Linked DNA regions of Homo sapiens: region 2 is linked to region 1. The links are contacts of gene promoters, found by promoter capture Hi-C in human tissues and cell types (Jung and others, 2019). All regions are on one chromosome and are shown on one strand. The core of a region is centred on a gene start or on the middle of the fragment in contact, and the rest is flanking DNA. Distances in the headings are between cores, read along the strand shown.

Region 1 (4,833 bases), core at 1,529-4,028:
GAAAAGCAACATATTGGAAGTGTCTGCTATCTTCAAGTCGTATGTTTTGTCTTTACTGCACAGCACAGCTTGCTCGTCTTTATCACCACGAATCACAAGACTGTAGCAAAATGGGGGAAAAATATATAGTTTATTGACAATCCAGTAGCCATTTTCATCATAAACAGTTCTCAAACCCTCTAGGCTTGCAGAACTTAGAATTAAGTTTTGATGCTGCCTCTGCCCCCTGCTAGCACAATGCTGGATTCCACACAGCAAGCATTGGGCCAACTGAGAGCCACACAGACGCCCCACCCAGAGCCTCATTAAGGAAAAATAATTAAAGATGGGCAAGACAGATCCATAGAGGCCAAGAGGCCAAATGGCACTACATGGCATCTTGTGCAAACTGCTGGAAAGAACACAAGACAAAGCATCCTGAAGCTTCAGTCAAGCTGTCTCAATTTTCTACAACATGCTAAAGTGGTACTTCTCAAATTTATGCATAGGCATCTTAGAGAGTGTTGTTCAAAAGCAGAGTGGGATACACTGGGTCTAGGATGGGACCCAGGGTCCCGTATTTCTAACAAGTTCCCGAAGAAAGGCCAAGGCCAAGCTGCTGCTCATGGTACCCCACCCAAGTGTCGTCCTTGTTTTGTTCTGAGTACCCCCTCACAATCAAAGGAGCACATCCTGGCCTAACCATAAGTTGTGTTGCAAAAAAATTGGGACCTTATGAAAAAAAGGATGCAGTGGTGAATGAAAAATATGAAAAGGATATGTTTAAAAACTGTACTAAACCAAAGACTTTGACAAAGGGATTTTGAAGAAAAGCAAGAACGCAGTGGCTCATGCCTGTAATCCTAGCACTTTAGGAGGCTGAGGCCAGAAGATCGCTCGAGAGCAGGAGTTTGAGACCAGCCTGAGAAACATAGCAAGACCCCATCACTACAAAAGAAAAATTTAAAAGTTAGCTGGGTGTGATGATGCACACCTTAAGTCTCAGCTACTCAGGAGGCTGGTGGGAGGATCGCCTGACCCCAAGTAGTCATGGCACCATCATGCAGAGAGCCGTGATTGTGCCACTGCACTCCAGCCTGGCTGACAGAGTGAGACCCTGTTCCCACCACTCTCTCCCCAAAAAAAAGATAAAGAAAAAAGAAGGAAGAGGAAAGGATGAAGGTGAAGCGGAGGAAAAGGAAGGATTAAAGACAAAGATGATGGCAATGACAGGGGAGTTGGTTCTAGCAGTTTTCCTTGTCTGTAAAGCATTTAATTCTCCTGTGCACAACTCGTTTCTTTTGAATAAATAATAAGAAACCTGAAATAGCAGACTGTGTATTTATTTTTGACTAAGTCTTCATTTAAGTAAAAAGAATAAAAGGTTTTTTAGATTCCTAATGCTAATAATGCTTAATAGGCCCAAGTACCTAGTCTTTAACATTTATTTCTCTAACTGCACTACCCCCACTTTGAAATATTTTGTTTATACCATCACTCCCTACACCCCAAAATTAAAAACACACGTTTCCAGGGCCTGTTTTTATTTTTTTGTTTTTGTTTTGTTTTGTTTTTGCCAGCTAGATTAACTAGAACTGGACCGAGAGAAAGTCCTCACACCTGAGTTCCTTTCTCAACTCTCCACCAACTGAACCGGGATGGAAACAGACTAGTGAAGTTCTTTCAGTTCCCTTAAAGGTACTTTGAGGTATATAGCAGGTATCTGAAGAATGGCCAGTTTACTCTAACACTCTTTGGTGGGCAAAGTACGAAAACTGAAAGACAGCCTAAAGGATTCCATTAAGAAAAAAGAGAAAAAATAGCCTAATAAAATATAGGTGTCGGAGGACCAATTGTGCAAAAGAGAATCAAGCTGGAGCTCCCTATTTTGCAGGAGCTGGGGCTGCACAGGGTGGAGGGATATAACGATTCTCTAGACTTCTCAAGACTGCCTTTAAAAAACTACCTCAACTTCGACTTCTAATCAATGATCTTGCAGCAAGTTTGTATCTGACCTGGAATTAGAAACAGCTTCAGATCCCTACTAAGCAAGTTTGCTTCGGGGTGGGTAGGGGTCTCACCCAATTACCAAGTCTGTAAGCTGATTCCCAGCACTTCCTATCTATCATCTGAGTAAAATAAATATAAGTGGAAGGCAAGAGTTCTATAAACATTGGGTATCACCACTGTATTTTAAGGTAGAGTGACAGGTGTCCTGTAGAGTCCCTGTAATCACCGGTAACTCTTCAAAAACTTCACGGAGGTTGTATTAGTATTTCCTGACTTGCTCCCGCTGACACATGCCTCCAAGGTCAGCTGGACCAGTGCTACTCATCACCGCAGTGCAGCTAACTGGACGGCCCACCGGAGGCGTGGACTCCTCGGGAACAGGCAGCTTGCTATGAGCCCCCGGCCAGGTCAGTGCATCTCTCTGGCCCTGTTTTCTTATCCCGACTTTCCCCGCTGAGAAAATAACGTGGCCGGCCAGAGGCTGGGGGCGCCGCGTGACCAGGGCTCACCTGTGTCCATCCTCCAGCTGCTGGCACAGCGTGGGCTCCAGCTCCAGCAGGCAGAAGTCGCCGGCTGCAGCGCCGCTGGCCCCAGGGCCGAAGCCCAGGCAGTGCACCGCCGGCAGCAGCTCGGCCGCATTCAGCTTGGCGATCTGCAGCGTCGCATCCACCTCGTCGCGGGTCCTCTTCATCGCAGCGCCGGGTCTAGGAGTCCCGCCGCGCCCGGGTGGCTGCGGGCTTGGCGGGCAAGAAAGAAGTTCCCAAGCAGCCGGAAGGTAGGAAACCTGAGCGTTTGAAAGCGCGCCAAGGCGGCCATGGGCGTGTTTCCGGGGCGGAGCGCGCTGCGGGCCCGCCCGCGGGAAGGCCTGCCGGCTTCTGGGAGCGCGAGCCCCTCCGTGCCCCACGCCGGACCGCGACTGCAGGAAGGAAACGCGGCTTCCCGGGGGGCGGTCTCGGCGGAAGCTCGCAGGGGCAGAGCTGCGACTCGGCGGGTTGGGACACGGATCCCTCGCCCACCCTTTCCGCTGTCCCCTTGCCCGCCCCCCATCCCCGATCTCCGTCCCTGGTTTCCAGCCGATGCTCCCATTTCCTCGCCGTCCACATTGTCTCACCTTCCGCCAGTGGCGGGCCCTGTGATAACCACTTGGCATGTATAATTCCATGAGCCCGTTGCCACAACCCTGTAAGGTGGTGCCTTGGTCATTCCCTTTTGCCAATGAGGAAGCAGGCTCCTTGCTCGTGATGGCAGAGTCAGGAGGTAACAGAGTCTGACTCCAGCCTAGCCGACTGTGGCTCTAAAAGCTTCCTGCGGGGTTTTGTGCAAATAACCCATGCTCGGGAGCGAGGCCCTGGGAAGGAGTATCTCGCTTCTTTGGGTCAGGGCACCATCATATCTGGAGACAACGGCGGGACTAGTCTATTCGTTGAATACCTAGTGTTAACCGAAAAGTGACTGATGCAGGTCTCGTTCAATAGAGGTTTATTTAAGCAAGGTTGAGGACGCACCCGAAGGGAAAAACAAGTCACAGGAGCATCTGTGACTTGTACATTTTCCAAAGGTTTGGGGAACTTCAGTATTAAGAGTTTTAAGAGAAAAGGTTTTCACTATGCACACATACATGAATTGCTTGTAACAGCGTAATGTGTAAACTTTCCCAGAGATGCTTAGGGAATCGTTGAGGGCCCTGGCTGTCCCTGAGAGCTAAAATAGTCTGGGAGGAATCACTTAAGAGATGGTGACCTCCTACTAGTTAGTGCAAATCAGACCTTGCTTGAAGTGAAAGAAAGTGGTGGGTAAGGTGTTGAATTCAAAGGATCTGAGCAGACATTTTTTTCAATTCTTGGGTAAAATGATACGAAAATACCAGAGTAGGGCATCCCAGGAGTCTGGGCAGTGCTTTCGTTGGTGGTGGAAAGATTGGTTCATGTGACCTACTTCTTCACTAGCCTCTTTTACATTTGAATGCATAGGAATTCGGTGGAATGAAATCCTGAATGTGACAGTGGTTGCCTGATAAGAAGTTATTATTGAAGGGAATCAACCATTGTAGTTGCTCTATTAAATGGGAAACATTCCCTACAACTAGAAGCAGTGTCAACTAGAACCCTGACATTTACATCAGACAGGCATGGCTGCGAATCCCAACTCTCTTCAGAACTTTGTGACCTAAGGCAATTTACCTAATTTCTCTGAGTACAACTTCCTTATCGATAAAAAAGCACATAAGACCTACATTCTTAAGATGTACATTCTAAAATGCATGGCTGCTTAATAAATGGCAGCAGTTCTTTTTGTTTTTATGTATTAATCATTATGAATTTAATTTCCAATTAATGGTATGAAATTATTGCCATTAATTTGATATTCTGTCAGGGAGCTGGACCTGTGTTCCTCTCATAAGACAAAATGATGATAGTTTTTATTAATTCATTCTTTAAAATTATGTTAATATGTTTTTCTAAAGTAAGAAATTTTCTGTACCTTTTCAAAAAACGATTGAAGCTGGCTTAATCATTCATCTGGTAGCAGGAAAAAAATATTCTTTATCAGGTAAAAAAATGAACAGTTATAATAAATTTCAAAAGTTCTGTTCATGAGAACAGAATCAGCTAAAATTGATTCTGTTCTCTTGGACACTGTACTCTTGATTATATTGCTCATATATTGTGTTTCATGGCATGAAATGAGAATTTTATTTACTAAATCTTAGTTCATATTATAGAATCATGTATGAACTTTTTTCCTTTTCTTTTCCTCTCTTCTCTTCTTTTTTATTCAATAAAGAGCACAGTGACGGCCAGGTGCAGTGGCTCACGCCTGTAATGCCGACACTTTGGGAGGCCA
Region 2 (5,107 bases), core at 2,421-4,920, 650 kb after region 1:
GGGAGACCTCTTAGAGGACGTTACATTTGAGCTGAGACCTAACGGATAAATGGGTGAAGTACATTCAGTCACACAGGACCAAATAGGTCCTCATACACAGTTCAGATTTCATTTTAAGTGCATTGGTGGGAGGATTTCATATGAAAGAGTGATGGGATATGATTTTGCAAAAATTTTGCTTTCTTACGGCAAATAAATTGCAGGAGGGAGAGATTAGAGCAGAGAGACAGATGGCTCTATCTGTAGGCTAAGTGAGAGATGACTGTAATTTCAAACTAGAGCAGTAGTAGTGGAAATAAATTTGGGAGATAACGTTAGTGGTAAGCTGGTGAAAAGCTTCCTATGATGCATTAGATGTGGAATAGAGGGAAAGGAAATGTTGAAGATCATTTAGATTTCTGGCTTCAGTCGAGTGAGTGGTGTTCTTCTGGGGTAGATGGGTGGAAACTTAGGGTGAGGACAGCTTTGGGGAGAAAAAGTCAAGAATTCTTCTTTAGGGATGATACGTTTGATCTATCCAAGTGGAAATAACAAGTGGACTGTGGGGATATCTGGAACTCACTCAATTTGGAGTTATCATCAGTAGGGATTTCCAAATACATGATGGTTGATGAGTTACATGGTGAGACTATGAGGCAAAAAGAAATGGAGGCTAAGACCACTCCTTAAGAATCCCTGGTGTTTATAGGTTAGGCAGGAGAAGACAAGAAAGAAGAGTGAGAAAAGGACAGGTTCCCCATGAGAGAACCTCAATTTCTTGCCTACCAATTTTAGATGATATCTTATAACTTCCCACTGGGAAAGATGAGTAATTAACACCCTTATTTTTCTTCCCTTTTTATCTTCTATCTCTAAACCTTATGCTATTTGCAGTATACAAGTCTTAATTTTATTTTTCTTCTCTCTGAGTTCCTACTCTAACTTGGCTGACTCTACCTGCATATTTGTTATCCTGGTATTTCTTTTGATTACATTTTAGATTAGTTCTGTATTTTCTTGGATTTCATATATTAAAGAGAAGTCTGATGCCACATCGATTTTTGTTCCTCAATAAGTATTTTATTTTGTCTCTAAAACTTTTACAATTTTCTATTTTCTTTAATGTTCTGAAATTACAAGAGGCCATGGTATGAGATGTTTTAGATTCAAGTCTTTTGTCTTTTTGTGGCTCTGAGAAATATCTTATTATTTCTTCAATACTATTCTTCCCTTCATTTTCTTTTTTTCTTTCTCTCTGAAATACCTATTTTAATTAATATTAAACATTCTGGATTGATGTTTTTTAATTTGATTTTTTTCTTAATATTCTATCTCTAACTTTTCTGCTCTATGTTCTGGGGAATTTCCTTTACCTTTGGTTTCATCTTTTCTGTTAAAATTTTTGGTAGTCATATTTTAAATTTCTAATAGTTTGCTCTTGTTCTTCTGCTGTATTTTTTCTAGCAACCTATTCTTTTATTAATAAGACTTGAGATGATACTGTAAGGATATTAATTAGAATTTTCTTTAAATTTGTTTTATCTGTTTCTTGAATTATCTCATTTCCATTTGCAGCTGTTTTATTTGTTCTTCTGGTGTTTTTCTCTTATGTGTAATTTTTCTCCAGTGTCTGGTTGTCCTTGATTGTCTCTTCATAACTAGGAATATAGGGCCCTGTTGCTTTCTATAGGTAGTTGGCATGTATTTTCTTTCCATAGGTTTAGTCCTGTTCCCCACGTCTCTCACTTATATTAATGTTAGGAGAAGGGAGAGCCGGGGTAGAGAATGTTTGTCAGGCTTCACTTTAGGGCATACTTTAGGGTATCAGCAGGCAGGAAGCATTGGTGCTTCACCCAGCACTAAATTACAGGGGCTTTATTCTGGGCCATCACCACTGACACTGAGACAGGCACTGTATCTTTACAAATTAAAATCATTGTATAGCTCCCACCCTGCTGGAGTATGAAGTCCGGAGAGAATTTGAGTGTTTTGTTGACTGTTTTTATTAGATTAATATTTTCAGTTTAAAAACAAAGGAATAGGAAGAGGAAAGAGGCACTGTCAGTATTTTATTGACCCTTAATATACAGAAATATGTTTAAAACTGTAATGTCAACATTTTAATCATGTAATTATCAGTAATTATGCTTAATTTGAGTAATAATCAGGAAATAGTTGAGTTAATATGAAGTTAGGAAATTAATTTTCTGTGCAGACATTGAAATATTTTATTTATGCTATGGTAACAGAGCTAAGGTGATCTGATTCAGTGCATAGTGAAACCTCTAACTGAAACCTCTAACTGGAAACATCTAACTGAAACTACAGTGCTTTTCACTTGCCGGTATTTAAAACTTTCTGTGAGTTTTTTTTCATTTATAGGGTCATAGAGTAGAAATAATAACTAATTTGGAGTTAGTCTGGTTCTATCATTTTAAATAGCTGTATCACCCTGCGTCTGTAATGTAACCTTTTGTATGTTAGCATCTTTACTTGACAAGTCGGAATAATGATTGCTTTTTAAGCTTGGCATGCCGATTTTCACTTTACAAAGTACTTATTTTTAGTTATTATTTCATTTTGAGATAAGACCTATTCCATCTTTTTCAAGGAAACTTGTGAGGATTAAGAATATATTATATGTAAAGTAGTTTGAAAAATATAAAGTCCTGCATGTATTTCAGGTATATAATAATGATTCAGTGCTTATTCATAATGTCATCATCATGGCTACAAGAGACTTTGGGGAGATTTCTGATTATTGTCTCATTTCACGGTTGTGCTTCAAGTAATCTTTCCAGTTCATGGAAAATTGGAACATTCAGTCACTTCCCTCAAAAATTTATAGTATTGTGGGGTTTCAGAACATACAAGAGAATTTAGATTTAAGTTTTATAGAATTGGTAACTTCACACCACTGAATAATAGGCCATCATTAATAGATAATGTAATTATGTTTCTTTTAAGTAGTTAAAATACTACTTCTTGACATGATAACTGCAAGTTTTATTGTGACCTAAAGATTTTTTAAAACATAGTTAGAAACTAAGTTATTTGCAAATATTTTACTTTATTGTCTGTCCTAAATGTTTAATTCTCCCATGTTGCTGGTGTGTTTTTCTGGTTTCTGCTCACATCTTCTTTTCCCGACTGTGCTTTTTTTTTTTTTTGACTCTGGCTTCTCTCTGGATTGAATCCACTTTTAATAAATCTGCATAACATTATTTTCCCAGAACTGGTTCATTACCTCATTCATCTGAACAGTTGCTGGGCCACAAAGAGGGTCCTCGGGACTCAATCACATTGTTGGATGCTAAAGAATTGCTGAAGTACTTTACCTCAGATGGATTACCCATTGGAGATCTTCAACCTTTACCGATTCAAAAGGGGTAGGTTATAAACTTATAATTTCCAGTTAACTTTTTAAAAATTACTTTTAAATAAAATTGTGTCTCATTTCCTTATTAATTGATGTCCTATGCTACTCAGGGAAAATTTATAAGTTTGATCCCAATGTTTGTCTGTTGGCCTTAATCTTCACTTTTTACCTTATCAAAATATCCTACTGTTTTGTGGTATTGAATATAAGAGAAACAGGAATAAGAAAAGCAAACTCACCATATTCCCTGTAGAAGTCAGTAACTTCTATTTGGTATGCAAAGGACAATGCTTTCTAAAAAAAATAGGAATTTGACTTACAAAATTTTTTTTTTAGTTCTCTTTTCTGTGTTACTGTAGTGTTGATATTGCCACTACTCAGCATGAGCATTGTCAGGCATGCCTAATAGTAGCAAAAAGCATGGCCTTTCACCTGAAGAACAGGAAAATGTAATAAAAATGCTTTGGAAACTATGACATTGCCAAGTAAGAATTCAGTGTCTACGTGAATAAATTACAACTAATTTGACTTCCAAGACAGTTTTCACTAAGTTACTAGTTAATAAATGCTGCATGTTGCTGACTTTGACAAAATTGACTGTAAAATTGTGACATCAAATACCTGTGAGAATTGAATAATTTACTAATTACTCTAATGTCTTTTTAATTGTTAATTCATTACTTTGAAAACCTTCCAAAAGACCTTAAAAATTGTAGATCACTTTGATCACTTTTATAAGCTTAATCGGAATTATACTGTATAAATATTGCCTTTAAAGGTGAATTTTGCAAAGGAGTTATTTGAAGGCAGTTATATCTCAGAAATATTGCTGGAACATTATTGCTTTATGTGCATGTTCACTAGAGAGAGATAAAGAGCAACTGAAAATTTGAGAGTCTTAATGACTTAATGATTTTAATGACATAAAAATTATATAATTTTGGAGTAATTTTTTTCCCATAACTTTGAAAGATTGATAACCTTTTGTTGTGGGAATCAAGAAAGTAAAGAAATATACATGTTTTCATCTATTTAGTTATTGGATTACTGTCCTTTCAAATCATTAAGCACAAACTGGCAGAGTCAGTTGGTTTGCCTAAACTGAATTATTTATGTAAGTTGTACTCTTTTTACAGAATGTCTTTCTAGATGCATTGTAGGGGAGATAAAGTTAGTTCTTTCTGGAAACTAATTGTAGGTGATTTATTTAGGAAAATTTGATGTGATTCTTCAATGTTAGTAAAGAACTGCATGGCTATCAAATGTATCTTCTGTTAACATTAGAGTTGAAGGATGAGTTTTCATGGTAATAAATCAGGAACCTATATGCTCTTATTAAATGTTTACCTGCACAAGAAGCCATCCAAAATACTGTGTTAAACAAAGTACAAACATGACTCCTATGTATATACCAAGGAAATAATAAACATTGACAAAACACATATTTATCAACATGTTTATTTTAGAAAGAAAAACTTGTGAGTGAAATTAAACAAAAATAGGTAAGGTTGCTGAGGGCGATTGATATGAGAAATGAGAGACAATATGGTAAAGGAAAGAAGTAAAATGCTAGATAAAGATTTCCATTTTACAAAATTATTTTAATAATCATCGAAATACTGGGGTCATTGTAATTTACTAATGTTACTTTTTGTGGAATAATTTAAATGGATGCATTTGAATATAATGTCTGCTTTTTAGGATTCATTAATTGGCATGAATTTTACATTTTAATGTAATAATTTCGAA

Evidence for each region. Contacts are between HindIII fragments. The study calls those that stand out against the background at their distance.
Region 2: a fragment that was not itself captured here is called in contact with the fragment with the promoter of DSCC1 in region 1 in 2 of the 25 tissues and cell types used here (lymphoblastoid cells and mesenchymal stem cells).

Annotation. Positions count from the first base shown.
Region 1 is chr8:119,853,116-119,857,948 of GRCh38, forward strand. It overlaps DSCC1 (DNA replication and sister chromatid cohesion 1), which reads right to left and starts at 2,779. Exons shown (of 9, transcript NM_024094.3): 1 at 2,499-2,779; 2 at 1-100. The coding sequence starts at 2,680. It overlaps LOC105375728 (a long non-coding RNA gene), which reads left to right. Exons shown (of 4, transcript XR_928590.3): 2 at 1,560-1,687; 3 at 2,291-2,764. RefSeq lists an enhancer at 2,451-2,760 and a silencer at 2,871-2,930. The HindIII fragment of the contact is 8,457 bases long and covers 1-4,833 here.
Region 2 is chr8:120,503,494-120,508,600 of GRCh38, forward strand. MTBP (MDM2 binding protein) reads left to right here. Exons shown (of 22, transcript NM_022045.5): 16 at 3,213-3,368. Among named protein-coding and RNA genes, the nearest start is that of MTBP, 61 kb to the left of the region's middle. The HindIII fragment of the contact is 4,501 bases long and covers 1,421-5,107 here.